3 separate regions of the Homo sapiens genome follow, and all the other regions are linked to region 2. The links are contacts of gene promoters, found by promoter capture Hi-C in human tissues and cell types (Jung and others, 2019). All regions are on one chromosome and are shown on one strand. Each heading gives the region's core, a stretch centred on a gene start or on the middle of the fragment in contact. The rest is flanking DNA. Distances are from core to core; before and after follow the strand shown.

Region 1 (3,266 bases), core at 259-2,758, 870 kb after region 2:
CTCAATTTTATTCAAATGAAAGCTGTGTGTGCATAGGAAGTATTCCTGGGGAATCTGTCTTAGGGAAACAATTTGTTAGCATTTAGGTACAGAAGGCAAGATGAGAGAGAGAGGCAGGCAAAATCTGGAAGGAGACAGATTCAGGATAGATTCAGGCCATGGAGTCTAGAGACTAAGGATTCTTTGACCCCAAGCTGATGTTTGGGAATTGGCACATCCACGTAGACCCCTGTTTCAGGACACTTTTGTGAGATAGTACCAGAATTTGTACTTGACCAGGGGCCTAGGTGGCAGTTTAAAATTTGATCTTAAATTTCTAAATACATTCTATTTCACCCTATTTTGGGTATTAATATGATTTAGAGACCAGAAAATGGAGGAGAATTAAATGGGAATGGAGGTGTCACACTGAGTGCAAAACTCCCCTCTAATGTAAGCAGAAGCAGTTGCTGTGATTATGTGGACAAGTGCTTAGGCCATTTCCTTGGCTCTTGCAGGCAGGTAAGATAGGTGGGTCCCAGTGTGGGTGGCTGACACCGGTAGTCTCAGCACTTTAGGAGGCCAAGGCAGGAGGATTACTTGAGCCCAGGAGTTGGAGACCAGCCTGGGCGACAGAATGAGACAGCATCTCTACACAAAATAAAAAATTAACCCAGCATGGTGATCACTTCATTGCACTCCAGCGTGGGTGACAGAGTGAGACCCTGTCTCAAGAAAAAAAAAAAGGTAGGTGGGCAACAATTTGGAAGAATTGCACAAATATTTATGGATGCATTGGCCTTATAAAATTTCAACGTGTCATGGTTGTTGATGTTGCAATAAATGCTATTTCTGAGGAGCATCTTTTTGTCCTTAATTTCTGGGCTCTGTAATACCAGCCAAACCTAGATATATGTCAAGATCATTTAAAGCTTTAATTAAAGGCTGAATAGCATTTAAAAGGCTATGTTGTATATTTGAGTATGTAAATATGTTCCTAATGTTGCTAATAGAGTTGTATACTTAAACTGCGTATACACAATCAGAGGGAAATTCACTGAAGTAACATAATAAAAGGTGAACCAATTGCTATGATTTAAAAATAAAAACTCATTAGAGAATGTACTATTCATCTAATTCAGAAAAGGACAAAACAGATAATAGATAAAAATTAAAGATCTGTCACAAAAGTCATAGAAGTCATTCATTTAAAGTATTTTTATAATGCAAGTGTTTCTTTAGAAAATAATGGAGGCTAGGAGGAAGCCACATGGTTTAACGTGTCTCTGCTTTCGTTTCTAACACTTGTGTCTGATGTCATGCAATGCAAAGTTTAGGAAAAAAAGCCTGAAGAAACCTAACTGCTCTGTTTCTGCATGCATAATACATGATAATGAATAATGCAAATATGAACTTTTATTTCTCTGAATTTTGATGGACACAGGGCCTAAAATGTTCTTCAATTTATAGCTACAACTGAAAACAGCAATGAATTGAGGGTAGAATAAGCTATAATACATTTAACTAGAAAATAGTTAAAGAACTTGAAACATTTTAATTAAGTAAGAATGTTAATTTTATCAACTGTATTATTTCATTTTAAGTCCTTGGGGTTAATCCCTTTTGGTAATGTCAGTGTATTTTATGTTTTTAATGTTGAAACTAAGTGTTGAGCTTACAGGAATAGGGTGAGAATAAACTATGTCTATAGATCACACCAAATACTTAAATCTTAAGTTATTTTTAAAGCCTACATTTTTAAGAAAAATCTTAATATTTTAATTGTTTGAAATATGATTGAAAAGGGAACTTTTCGATTAAGCATAAATACAGAAATGTACACGAATTATTGAGTACAACTGAATACATTTTTACAAAGTTAACACATCTTTGTAAACAATTATCAACATCCCAGAACCCCCCTTTATGTTTTTTTACCAGTTACCAAAATATAAGTTTTAAACTGTAAACATACAGATTATTAGGTTAAAATGTGATTTTTTTTCTTTTTTTTTTTTTTATCCACACAACATATAGATCATTTATTTTCCTTCTAGTCCTGGGTTCAGTACATAGATGGCTTCTCTTCACCCTTTGGGTGGACAGTTTTCTCCAAGTTGCTGCTGATGATATGATAAAGCTCAGCATAGAAGGCCCTCAGGTCCAGCACCATGGCCCTGAGCTCCGCATAGGCTGCCTCATCTCGCTCATGCACCAAGACCCGGTAATCCATTACATGAGTCTCCTTGGAGGCCTTGGCCACTGCATCCCCACGTTCTGAGAAATACTTGGAAATGGTTGTCTGGAAAGCTTCCACTTTGGTCTTGATGGCATTCACCCTCTCCAACACCTTATCCTGGATTGCTACCCCAAAATCATTTCCATCTTCAATCTTGTTAAGCCAGAAGTCTGGACTCTTAAAGAGAAATGCATTCTGGTGATTACATGGATCCAACACCTGATCCCTAAAATGTGAATTTTTAACTTGTCGTCGATCAGTATTGAAAAATAAATTTAAGACTAAATCCTGTGTCTTAGTCTGCTCTGCTCAGCCTACAATAAAAAAACACCACAGACCAGGTGGGTTAAACAACAGACAAAATTTATTTCTCACAGTTTAAAGGATGAAAAGTCCGAGATCAAGGTGCCAGCAAGGTAGGTTTTATTCTGCTGACTCTTCTCTTCGACTGCGGAAAGCTGCCATCTTGCTGTGTGCTTACGTGACCCCTTTTTTGCACATGCACCTGGGAAAGGAATGTCTAGCTCTCTGATATTCTACTCATAAGGACACTAATCCAATCATGAGAGCCACAGCCTCATCACCTCATGTAACACTAATTACTTCTCCAAAGCCCCATCTCCAGCTTCTATCACATAGGGAATTAGGGCTTCAGAATATATGTTTTGGTGGGGACAGAAACATTCAGTCCTTAACACCCTATCAGAGGAATACTTACAGATGAAGATTAGAAAAAATAATAGAAATTAGAAATCAATTTTCCATGCCTACTCACTTATGACCTAGCCATCTATGATAGACTTGGTAAGAAAAAAATGTGTGGTATCAAGGCAGGAAATATGAGAAATTTGCTATTTACTTGAAGGGTTTAATTTTGCCTATAAGCAAATAAAAAGTACTCTTACCCCTTTCCATCAAAGATACAAAACAAAAACAACCTTTTAGAAATGATTATGGCATTTAAGTTAACTCAATTTTATTTTCGGAAATAAAGCGTACATTTTAAAACCAAGATGACACTTGATCATCAAAGTTGCTGTAGGAGAAG
Region 2 (3,375 bases), core at 847-3,346:
AAATTCAAGAAACATGTCCAAAGACATTGTTACAAACTGAATATTATATGTTCTCCCTGCTCCTCTCCCCACTCCCATATGCTAAAGCCCTAACTCCCAATGAGATGGAATGTGGAGGTGGGGCTTGGGAGGTTATTAGTTTTAGATTAGATCATAAAGGTGAGGCTCTCTTGAGGGATTAGTGGTCCTTCCTGAGACAGTCACCTGAAGGCAGAGTGAGAAGGCAGTCAACTGCAAGCCAGGAAGCAGGTCTGCATCAGGAACCAAATCTGTTCCCACCTTGATCTTGGACTTCCCAGCCTCCAGAACTGTGAGAAAATGTTGTTGAAGCCACCCAGTCCACGGTGTTTTGCAATAGCAGCCTGAGCTCAGACACAGAGCCAGGAAGTAACCGAGAGCCAAGACTCAAAATCTGCATCTATTCATACCCAAGCCCTTCACCACAGAAATACTCCGTTTATCATTTTTAATGGCTGCCTAACAGTTTGTTGGATTGAATTTTCATGATTTACGTAAGTATTTCTTAACTGATTTGGGTTACAGCCAGTTTCCATTTTGTAAGAGACTAGTGCTTAAAGCATCTTTGCATATATCTCTTTGTTCTTCTTTTGAACTATTTCCTTCGAATAGATTCCCAGGAGGGGTGTCTGATAAGGTACACAGCTCCTGTTACCTACTGGTGGCTGGCCAAATTTTATTGTTGCTGGAGAACTTCAGATCCCAGGGCAATTCATTAGGCTGCTTCTGACAGCAGCAATTACAGCCATGAAGTAGTTACCGCTAAAACCACCATCCTTTTTCAAGGGGTTATAGAGAGCTCGTCGGTAACTGTGACCTGTTTCTATCACCTGTGGTTCTCAGCAATACAATGCTTGGCACACAGTAGGCTCACAGCAAATGTCATCAGACTGACTAGAGACACCAGTGATTAGAAAGGCCATAGCTGGAAGTCAAGTTGGATGAGCTAACATTCCACAACGCCAACGCTTTTATTTAGTTACGTATTCTTTCAATATTGCATTTCGAAAACTTCAGGGGCTAAAAAGAGCTCAGAATGAGTTGGTACATTTTCATCAGTTGGGTATCTCTGAATGTCTTCAATGAACACATATAAAATTGGATTCAGAGTGGGTCAGTCTGGCAACCGCCCAGGAAGCCAATCCCCTGGGGCACTAAGTTACCCTGAAATAGAACTGAAATACAGGGGTAGCTGGCACAGGTCTCCCGAGGTGACTCCTTCCTGCTTGGTGAAATGTGCAGGTACCCAGATCCAAGAGAGGATCCAAAAGTATTTAGCAGAAACACACACACACACACACACAGAGAGAGAGAGAGACACACACACACAGGCTCGCCCTGGTCTCTGTCTCAGTCATTAACAATGGCTGTCACCTTAAAGAAGGAACAAATGATCAACCCAGTCTCCCTGGCTCTTAGACACATTTATGGGAAGTCAGCAGGGCAGGAAACACTCACAGGAACCCCAAGTCTGAACTGCCTGCTTCTCAGATGCTGGAAGGAAGCCCGCGGAACTACGAAGAGGGCTGCAATGCAAAATACTAGGGGCCTTCGCAGGGGCGCGCGGGCCGGGCTGCTACAGCCCAGGCCCCGGGCCTTCGCCTGGAGTCCCCGATAGGGGTCAGAGGCCCCCGAGCCCCACTTATGCCCCCACTCCCCGAGCCAAGAAAAAAAAAATTATGCGCACATTTAGGGGGATCATTTGTTCATTTCCTCGGATTCTCACAGGGGTCAGTCCCCACCCTGCCGCCACCAAGTTTACAATCCACTGTCCCAGATCCTCGGGCTGGGGGGGGGGAGGGGCGCGCCGAGGAGGGCTTAGTAGGAGGGCAGCGCCCGGCCTGGACCGGCCCTAGGCTCCCGGGTGCAGCCGGTGAAATGAAGCCGAAAGCCGTAGGCGGCGGCGGGGCCTGCGGGACCCGCGTCCTACCTGCCTCCCCCAGTCCCGGCCCGGTGCCGGGCCCGCCGCCGCCCGCTTGGCCCCGCACCGCCCGCCGAGGCGCAGTTCCGAGGGTCAGGCCCCGGAGCAACCAGAGGAGCCGCGCCATGACGCCCGCTCCGGCGCCGCTCCGCCCTCTGCCCTCTGCCCGTCTCTGCCCCTGCTCCCATCCCACCCCTCCCCCATTCTCTCCCGTCCGCCTGCGCTAGTCGGCCTCCCTCCCCACGCTCCGCCCACACCGCCAGTCCCCTCGTCTCCCTCCCCCTCTTCTCCCTCCCCTGCCCCTCCCTCCTTCCCTCCTTCCCACCTGCTCCTCCCACTATGTGCCCTGGGCCCTCCCAGGTCCCCGCCCCTCTTTCCTCCCACTCTGCCTCTCTCTCCCCCTCCCTCTTCCTCTCCTTTTCCCCTTGCCTTTCCTCCCCCTTCCTCTCCCCCTTCCTCTCTCCCTTCCCTTCCATGAGACCCTCCCCAACCCATCTCTGCATCTCCCAGCTCCTCCCACTCCTGCTCCTCCCTCGCCCTGCCCCCCTCCACCTATCCCAACTCCACTCATCCGCAGCCCAAACACTGATCTGTTTTAGTTTGCATTTTCTAGAGTCGTCCATAAATGGAATCATCCCATATGTACTTGATTTTGTCTGGCTTCTTTCACTCAACATAGTTACTTTGACATGCCTGCGTGTTTTTGCATGGAACAATCATTCATTGCTTCCTGAGCAGTATTCCATTTATGGATATACCACCGTGTGTTTAGTCAGCACTTGATTTAGCCTGCTTTCAATTTTTCCTGATTAGAACTACAGCTGCTAGGAACATCCCTGTGCAAATCTTTGTACAGACATATACGGTTTTTCCTCTCTGGGGTAAATACCTGGAAGTGGAATGCCCAGGTCGTAAGGTAGGTGTAACCATTTAAGAAACTACTATACTGTTTTCCCAAGTGGTTTTTTTCTTTACCTTCCCACTAGCAGTCTATGCGAGTTCCAGTTGTTCTTCATCCTTGCCAACACTTGAAAGTCCAGAGATTTTAACTGTAGATGTTCCGGTTCTGTGTAGTGGTAGCTCATTGTGGCTTTATTATGCATTCTCTAATCGTTAATGATGTTAAGCATCTTTTCATGTGCGTATTTGCAGCGAGTGTATTTTCCTTGGTGAAGTGTCCGTTCAGATCTTTTGCCCATTTAATGTTGAGTTGTTTCATTATTGAGCTTAGAACACTTTATATATTTTGGATGCAAATCTTTTATCAAACATATGCTTTACAAAGATTTTTTTTCCCAGTCTCTTGTTTGTCTTTTCTGTCTCCTAATATTGTCTTGGGAAGAGCAGTTTTTAATTTTGATGAAGCCCAATTTATCAATTTGTTAATGGATTGTTCTTTTTTTGGTATCATATTTAAGAAATCTTTGCCTAATCCA
Region 3 (3,165 bases), core at 293-2,792, 660 kb after region 2:
TTAGGATTTTTGTTTCCTCTGGGCTCTGGTTTACTGTCCCATTAAAGTGCTTCTGTAAAAGGCAACCCAATTGAGACCAATGCTGAATATATAAATTTTTATAGGTATGCCCCTGTTTGAAGTTGCTAGAGACAGTAAAAGTTTGGGCTTCCATTTATTGGTTCCTAGTGGTGTTTATTCTCAAGAGTAAATTCCTAGAGCATTAGCACTTAAATGCTTTAAAAATTTGGAAACTTAAACCTGAGATGCATGCAAATGCAAAACAAAATGCTTTCAAATAATGATCATAAAGCTGTTAGTCTGGGGAGGTCTACTTATGTTTTTGGTCATGTTCTAGCTTTCCTAAAGACATCAGGGGAGGATATGTTAAAGCCTTTTTAAGTGATTTCTGGTTCATAGTGCTTTGCAAAACAATTTTTCTTGACATTATTTTCTATATTAAATACTTCAGTAAGTGTTTTTAATGATAATGGCCACTGGCTTTGTGGCCTACTGTTTATTGCAATTTTGTCGGGCCTTATTCTAGGCTTCCCTTTCACCTGGGCTTCCCAACTATCTGTAACTTGATCAACAGTAATTTGGGATGGGAATGGCCAGGGTCATATGTTAAATAGGGCAGTTCCACTTTTCTGACCACAAAATCCTCCCCTTCCTGACCACTTAAAAACTGTTACATAATCTACAAACACATGGCTCTAATAAGTTCTACTACATACCTTGCCAAAGGTCACACCTGCAATCTACCTTTCTATTGGCACAATACATTTTATTAGAGAATATTTTTATCGCTTATAATTGTGGCCTATCAGAGCACTTAATTATTTTTAATAACACATTCTGCCTTCATCCACATCATCATAGTGAATTGGTTTTTGCAAGGAAAACTTGGTCATCCTAGCATGTGAACAGTTTTTAATCTTTTTTTGAAAAATGTTTCATCTGAGATTAATTTCTGTTGGGAGCAAAAATGAAGCCAGGCTGTACACATGATGTGTTTAAATACATTTTCACAAAAAGAAAAATATTAAGAATATCTTGGGTCATAGACATGCAGTATCAGAAGGCATCCCAATAAACAAAAGTGAGAGCTCCTCTTTAATTCCTAGCACTTGATTATTTCTAAATATATAAGGGCAGATAATGTTCAGCAAACGTGCAGGTTTTACAAATTGGCTCCTTCAGAGTAGGTCATAAGCTTGCTGCAATTGTGTTCCCATTACTCAAACATTTTTAGAATTCTTTAGAAATTTGCCACAAGAGTCTGAGTCACATTCTTTTAAATGACATCATCAGTGATAGCAAATCTTCCTCCTCGGAGAGCAGATTTTTAGAAATACTCAAGTCATTTGAAACCACACTGAGTTTAGTAACATCATTTGGCAGGGAAAAATTGAACTAGAAAGAGTAAAAATAAGTGAACTGATTAATGGTTTTTTAAAAATTAAACTCCAAGAAATGGAGGATTAGGGAAACTTTGGAGCAGAAATTAATGATTAGAAACAATGTTTTTGATCAACTCCAAAGGTAATTCTTTGGAAAAAGATCAAGAAAATGGAGAAATCGCTGATGAATCTATTTAAAAAAAAAAAAAAGAAAAGAAAATATAAAGGAGAAAGGAGATATAACAGATATGGATACTTTTTTTTTTTTTTTGAGACAATCTTGCTCTGTTGCCCAGGCTGGAGTGCAGTGGTGCAATCTCAGCTCACTACAAGCTCCACCTCCCAGGTTCACGCCATTCTCCTGCCTCAGCCTCCCAAGTAGCTGGGACTATAGGCGCCCGCCACCACACCCGGCTAATTTTTTGTATTTTTTAGTAGAGGCGGGGTTTCACTGCGTTAGCCAGGATGATCCTGATCTTCTGACCTCCTGATCTGCCATGGAGACTTTTTATAAATTATATGAGACTGCTATGTGAAATTAGCTATGTGCTAAACATTTTTTTCTGGAAAACCATAAATCACCCAAATTGAATCTAGGAGTAGAAAAACTAAGTAGATCAAAGCTAGGGGAGAAATTTTAAAACGCCTAAAGACCAAGAGAGGCTTTAGGCAAATTCTTGCAAATTTTGAAAGACATAAAATCCCCTTTCTAAATGAATAAAGACACTAAAATTTAAGTTTTTTGTGAGTGAAACCACTTTTATTATAAAACCTATCAAAAATGGTATACGCCAAGCATGATGGCTCACACCTGTAATCCCAGCACTTTGGGAAACTAAGGGGGGAAGATCGCTTGAGCCCAGGAGTTCCAAGAGACCCTATCTATACAAAGAGTAAAAAATTATCTGGGCCTGGCTGGTGGTAGGCTCCTGCAGTCCTAACTACTCGGAAAGATGAAGTGGGAGGATCATATGAGCTTGATAGGTCAAGGCTGCAGTGAGCCATGATCTCATCACTGTACTCCAGCCTGGGTAACAGAGCAAGACCCCGTCTCAAAAAAAAGAAAAAGAAAGGGCACTCAAAAAATAAAAGTTCACATAAGAAACTCAATGCCAGAATTCCCCCCAAAATACCAAAAATGCCAGCAAATTAAATTCAATAAAGTCAGTCATTTTAAACAATCAGGTAGATTTTATCCTAGAAATGCCAGGATATTTCAATACCAGGAAAATAGTTTATATAAAAATACATTTAGATTATATAAGAATAAAAACCTTATTATCTCGATAAGTGATAAAAATCTAGCACCTATTCCCAATTAAAACAACTATATTTTTTAAAAACTTTTAGTAAATGTTAAACTGATAGCCAACATCGTATCTTTTAATAAGATTTTATAAAAATAATAATGGTACTGGTAAGACAGCCAAATTAACTTTACACCTTCTCTCTGAAGGCCTCCTGAGTAGCTGGGATTACAGGTGCACGCCACCATGCCCAGCTAATTTTTGTATTTTTAGTAGAGAGGGGGTTCCGCCATGTTGGCCAGGCTGGTCTTGAACTCCTGACCTCAGGTGATCCACCCGCCTCGGCCTCCCAAAATGCTGGGATTACAGGTGTGAGCCACTGCACCTGGCCTGCTTTTTATTTTTTAATTTCATAAAGTACTTTGTACATCTTCCCACATCAGCACATATAGACCTACCAAAATTTTTCGTAGTGGTTAAGTACAGTTATATGAATGAACCGTGATTTTTCACTCACCTATTAGGGACCATTTAGA

What was found. The method cuts DNA at HindIII sites, captures the fragments that hold promoters and counts their contacts. A contact is called where the count stands out against the background at its distance.
Region 1: a fragment that was not itself captured here is called in contact with the fragment with the promoter of MSRB2 in region 2 in 1 of the 25 tissues and cell types used here (dorsolateral prefrontal cortex).
Region 3: a fragment that was not itself captured here is called in contact with the fragment with the promoter of MSRB2 in region 2 in 1 of the 25 tissues and cell types used here (lymphoblastoid cells).

The regions. Positions count from the first base shown.
Region 1 is chr10:22,224,806-22,228,071 of GRCh38, reverse strand. It overlaps the pseudogene PSME2P6. Among named protein-coding and RNA genes, the nearest start is that of TRN-GTT2-3, 3.1 kb to the left of the region's middle. The HindIII fragment of the contact is 3,920 bases long and covers 1-3,266 here.
Region 2 is chr10:23,094,300-23,097,674 of GRCh38, reverse strand. MSRB2 (methionine sulfoxide reductase B2) reads right to left here and starts at 2,096. Exons shown (of 5, transcript NM_012228.4): 1 at 1,949-2,096. The coding sequence starts at 2,066. It overlaps LOC107984215 (a long non-coding RNA gene), which reads left to right and starts at 2,396. Exons shown (of 3, transcript XR_001747394.2): 1 at 2,396-2,855. RefSeq lists a silencer at 1,819-2,288. The HindIII fragment of the contact is 14,874 bases long and covers 1-3,375 here.
Region 3 is chr10:22,432,172-22,435,336 of GRCh38, reverse strand. No RefSeq gene overlaps it. Among named protein-coding and RNA genes, the nearest start is that of LINC03027, 4.2 kb to the left of the region's middle. The HindIII fragment of the contact is 7,336 bases long and covers 1-3,165 here.